Linked DNA regions of Homo sapiens: region 1 is linked to region 2. Evidence: promoter capture Hi-C in 16 types of primary human blood cells and fetal thymus (Javierre and others, 2016). All regions are on one chromosome and are shown on one strand. The core of a region is centred on a gene start or on the middle of the fragment in contact, and the rest is flanking DNA. Distances in the headings are between cores, read along the strand shown. Region 1 overlaps ADAMTS10 (ADAM metallopeptidase with thrombospondin type 1 motif 10). Region 2 holds the start of PRAM1 (PML-RARA regulated adaptor molecule 1).

Evidence for each region. Contacts are between HindIII fragments. The CHiCAGO score rates a contact against its expected background, and 5 or more counts as called.
Region 1: a fragment that was not itself captured here is called in contact with the fragment with the promoter of PRAM1 in region 2 in 1 of 17 cell types (non-activated CD4 T cells); the score reaches 5.4 in non-activated CD4 T cells.

The regions. Positions count from the first base shown.
Region 1 is chr19:8,592,949-8,595,648 of GRCh38, forward strand. All of the region lies in intron 12 of ADAMTS10 (ADAM metallopeptidase with thrombospondin type 1 motif 10), which reads right to left. Among named protein-coding and RNA genes, the nearest start is that of ADAMTS10, 16 kb to the right of the region's middle. The HindIII fragment of the contact is 664 bases long and covers 919-1,582 here.
Region 2 is chr19:8,501,203-8,503,902 of GRCh38, forward strand. It overlaps PRAM1 (PML-RARA regulated adaptor molecule 1), which reads right to left and starts at 1,438. Exons shown (of 10, transcript NM_032152.5): 1 at 1,363-1,438. The coding sequence starts at 1,389. The HindIII fragment of the contact is 16,783 bases long and covers 1-1,905 here.

The sequences.
Region 1 (2,700 bases), core at 1-2,500, 92 kb after region 2:
GATGTCCGGCTCACTGCCGGTCCCAGAGCAGAGAGCCCGGTGCTCCCTTCCTGGCTCGCGGTGGGTCTTCGTGCATCCCCTTGCGGGGCATGGCCTGTGACTTATACTCTCCCAATAAGCTCCATTTATGGAGCACTTTATACATGCCATATACCTCTTTAGGCAGTACTACCCCATCTTACTGGGAGAAAACCAAGCTTCAGACAGGTAAGGTCACACAGCTACTAAGGGAATAGCCTGGAGTTTAACCCAGCTCTTTAATTCAGAGTCTGTGCTCTAACGAACTTTGCAATTCAGTTCCTGGTGCCTTCTGAGTTTCTGGAAGGAAACGTGGGAACTGCTGAGGAATGAACAGGAAGGATTTGGGGTTCTTTTATGGGATGGGCAAAGTAGCCGAAGAGAAAGTGGTGGTTCTGAGAAATCGGCCTGGATGATGACTAGGCCAACGGCCTCATCTCTAGTTTTTTCCAGCTGTTGGTTCTCTTTGTTCCCCCATCTAAACTGGAGAAGCCCCCAACACTTTTAAGCTATGTGGAGGGGTGGGAGTTTGGGAGGGGACAATGCCGAGTTAGGTCTGTGTGGGACATGCCTCTCTTTCTCCAGGTGAAAAATCAGCCCCACCTTCTTCCCGTCTGAATCCTGGATGGGCTGAACTAGTCCCAGGGACTCACTCTGACTCTTAAAGTCCAGGTTAATATCCCTGGAGAAGCCCCAGTGAGTTCAGGTGAAGCAAAATCTCTGACCCTCTTGGCCCACATCCTAAGCAACCTCCCAGCGTCTTTCCTCTAAAAAGTAGGTGGTCCTCTCTGACCCTCTTGGCCCACATCCTAAGCAACCTCCCAGCGTCTTTCCTCTAAGAAGTAGGTGGTCCTTCTGTAATTATCAAGTGTAATCCCCGCTTTGAACCCAATTCTTGTAAGCTTTCCAGATGTGGGACTGGATCGATCAATGGCCACAGGAAAGGACCCTTCCTAGGTCAGCCCCTGAGAGATACCTGTACATATGTAAGAAGCTGGAAGAGTTGTTCTCAAATACATTCTCCCTCAAAGGTCCTCTAGAATCTCTGCCTTCTGCCTTATAGAGGACATTTCTCAGCTAAAAACTCAGACTGTGTCCTCTTGGCCATATCTAAAAATATCACATCAGTCCTGTCGCAATCCCACTTCTGACACCTCTTCAAGATAATGATTTCAGCTCTGCTTTTGTCCTCCTCTCCACAAGGAGGCACTGTGGCATATTTGAGTTGTGCAGAGACCTCAATTCTGCTACCAACTTGCAATATATTTCCCCTCTCTGGGCCTCAGTTTACTCATCTACAAGATGGGCAGCCTAATGCCTGTCTTGCCTATATAAATGGCTATGAGGCACGTGACAGGATAGATAAGAAAGGACTTGCACCAATGCCATTATGGGGTAACAATGACCACCACTATCTCTGGACCAGGCACCAGGCTGAACCCTTTACATATATTAACCAGTTCACATTTAGTAAATAAATCCCCCTTTGCCAAGATGGCCTGAAAGATGTTCCTTCAAAAACTAAAAGGAAGGCTCAATTCAACATATAGCCAGTGCCAGCCCAAGCTTGATATTTTGACAGCTCCTCCCCTCCCCTGCCCCTTTGTAAAATTTAGAGAGTCATGAGAGACCTGGATTTAAATCCCAGCTCTGTCATGGTCTCAAACTGTGGCCTTGGACAAGTCATCCTCCCTATGCTATGGCTCAGTCCCTTCCTCTGTAACGTGGGGGCTAGCAGGATTGTCAGGAGTTTAGATGGTGACACACAGCACATGCTTAGCCCATAGTGAGAGCTCAGTAAATGTCAGACACCATGATCATTGTTAGGATACCTGGGTCACAGCAGATGTTGAGGAGTAGCTTCAGAATTCTTTAGGAATTCCTTAGAGGGTGCTGCAGTTACCAGCTAAGTTAGGATGTTGGGGGGTGTCAAGGGTGGAATGTCAGTGAAATAGAAATTGTTCCAGGGTTTGTCTCTGTCTTGCAGTGGAATGAAGGGAGGGCAATTTGGCAGCTGCTTGCCCTCTGCTTTGCATTAACATGGCATCACAAAAACTCTGATCGTTTGAGTTGTGATAGTGTGAAGAACTGGGGCTGAACCTGGGCCCCTAGGGCTGAGACTGTGAGGAGCTTAGGGGTGCATTTAGGGAATCGAGGCAGGTGGGCAGAGGAGGAGCAGATCCTGGCTGAACCTTGGTGGCTGAAGCAGGAAGCCAGCAGGTCTTCAGCTTCCTGGGGGGAGCTGGGAGTGGAACCTCCTGCCCCCCAATGCCCTTCTCTATGCACGAATGGGGCTTTGGGAATCTAAACCTCAGGAAAGGGTGGGGAGAGGTCAGGAGGCTCAGAGCTCCTCCAGACAGGGAGTCCCTGGAAGGTTCTGTCTAGTTCTTTGCCAAGTAGGAAAGATGGCTCATCCCCAGGGAAATTATTTCCGTCAGGACTGGATGTTTAGTTAAAAACTGCCCCGTGAGAGGTCTTGAGACTTTGATCCTGCTGTAGCCCACAGGGGGTGTGATGTGCCAGACAGAAGCTGGCCCCCCAGCCCAGCCCTCAAATCAGGGGTCTGGAGAAGCAGGTGATCCCATTTTTGTTCCCAAGCACTGTCTGATTGCTTAGGACATTTTGCACACTCCATGCACCTCTGTCCTCCCAGGTCACCATGGGGGCTCACCTCACCCCCCT
Region 2 (2,700 bases), core at 188-2,687:
ATTCTCAGCCTCCTGAGTAGCTGGGATCACAGGTGTCTGCCACGACGCCTGGCTAATTTTTTTTGTATTTTTAATGGAAACAGGGTTTTACCATGTTGGCCAGGCTGGTCTCGAACTCCTGACCTCAAGTGATCCACCCACCTCGGCCTCCCAAAGTGCATGAGCCATCACGCCTGGCCTAGACCACCCTATTTTAAATGGATCACCCCATCCCACTACTGCCCTGCATTCAGCATGCATGATTTTCTCCATCGTACCCACCCCTACGTATTATACTATTTTACATTGTTTTTAATGTGTCTTGATTTTTTTTTTTTTTTTTTTTTGTCTCTCTACACCACAACTTCCCTCAGTTCCTCAGCCTCTGCAAGGCAGAGACTTGGCTCATTCATTGCTGTCTTCCCAGGGCCTGGAACATGGTAGGTGCTCAGTAAATATTTGCTGAAATAAACAATATTCAGGCAGCACAAAGACAGCCATGTACTCAGCCTGACCATCAGGAAAACACAGAGATGCCTGGAGACGGCCATGCGGTCCCTCTCACACCGTCTCTGACATGCGGGCTGATGGTCAGGAATGCTCACAGTTGACAGTGCCTGAGAGGATTGGTGCAGACACCGTGGGCACAGGCGCTGTCTCCTGCATACCCAGCTGTCCCAGCTGCCCTCCTAGCTGGCCCTGCAACCACTCCTCACAGAGGTAGGCAGATTCACAAGAAGGCCAGGCCTCCTTAGTCCTACAAACGCCCCTTTCACCTGTGGTCAAGGAGATTGGGGGAGGGAAAGGGCAGAAACGTGTGGCCTTTGCTTCCTGCGTGTGCCTCACTTTCCCCATCCAGAGGACCAGAGACCAGGATTGCTCCTTGGAAAGGCAGCAATTCCCACCTGGGGCCTGAAGTGCCCCTGTCAAAGCCCCGAGTGGTTTGAAGGAAGTGCTCCCGGGCGACCACAGGGCTAGATAAGTCAGGGTTAGCAGGTCACAACTTGGGTGACTGGACGGGGGAGGGTCATGACCCACTTTGTCACCCCGCAGGAAAGCACTGCTCTCACCCCAGCAGCCCGTTCCCACATGGCTGCTCATGTTGACCTGGGGAGACGGGAGTTGTCCCCCCGGGGAGTCCCATCTGTCCCCCTCGCAGTCCCAACCTGAGCGTGAACCCCCAGGAGCCCGCGCTGTCCTGGGGTGTGCCTGGTGGCCGCCTACCTCGGGTCCTTTTTGCCGACCCTTCCCGTTTCCCAGATGTCTTTCGCAGCCACCCCCCGCCCCCCCGCCCGCCCCTCCACAGGTGGATCCTATCCTTCTGGGAACATCTGTGTCCCTTGCTTCCCAGCCAGTGAGGCACAGGCCTCTTCCAGCACTCACCATGGCTGCAGGCAGGTGATGGGCCATGGGATGAGTGGGACCCGAGCTGGGGCCGCTGCCTTCAGGAAGTGACTGTGGCTTCTGCTCCACGGTCAGCACACAGGGTGGGGGCTGCTAGAGGTGGGGCGGGGGAGGGCAGAGGAGGAAGGGAAGGAGGTGGGGAGGCTCCAGTCCGTCTCCAGATCCTGCCAGCCACTTCTTTTTTTTTGAGACTGAGTCTTGCTCTGTCGCCCAGGCTGGAGTGCCATGGTGCCATCTCGGCTCACTGCAACCTCTGCCTCCCGGGTTCAGGCAATTCTTTTGCATCAACCTCCTGAGTAGCTGGGATTACAGGCGCGCACCACCGCTCCTGGCTACTTTTCGTATCTTTAGTAGAGAAGGGGTTTCACCATGTTGGGCAGGCTGGTCTCAAACTCCTGACCTCAAGGGATCGGTCCGCCTCGGCCTACCAAAGTGCTGGGATTACAGGTGTGAGCCACTGCCCCGGCCCCTGCTGGGCACTTCTATTTCGCTTGAATTCCTGTCCTGCCTGCTACTGTCCCAAGCTTGGGGCACTGGTTGCCCGCATGTTCCTAACATGGTCACTAGTTTCTTTCTTTTTTTTTTTTTTTTTTTTTTTTTTGAGACGGGGTATCACTTTGTTGCCCAGGCTGGAGTGTAGTGGCGCAATCTCGACTCACTGCAACCTCCGCCTCCCAGGTTCAAGCGATTGTCCTGCCTCAGTCTCCTGAGTAGCTGGAATTACATGCATGTGCCACCACTGCCGGCTAATTTTTTGTATTTTTAGTAGAGACGGGGTTTCACCATGTTGGTCAGGCTGGTCTCAAACTCCCAACCTCAGATGATCTGCCCGCCTCGGCCTCCCAAAGTGCTGGGACTACAGGCGTGAGCAACCACGCCTGGCCAACTAGTTTCTTACTCTCTATAGTCCCCATCATTCCTACTACTTTGGTGTCCCCATCTCTGGACTCCAGGGAGGACTCCATGCCAGGCCCTGGTGACCTCCTGGGCTAGAGAGCCACAGGATGGGGAGATCTCAGCAGATCAGGGGTACGGACAGCTCTGGGGTTTAGGAGGCTCCTGGGGAGGCCCAGAGGCCCAGGACGTGGGGGCCCATGTGACCGGGTGAGGCCTCTGCTGTCTGCCCTGGTTGGCTCATCCGCCTTCCTCATTTCAACACTTCCATGAAATCCAATTCCCGGCTCTGAGCAGGACTCACTTGTTCTGGGGCAGATATCACAGGCCATGGATGTCCCAGGCTGCCGCCCTGGGCAGAAAGCTTAGCTGGTACAGCAGATTTGGGGGTCGGTGGGTGAGTGGTGTCAAAGGCCTTGCACC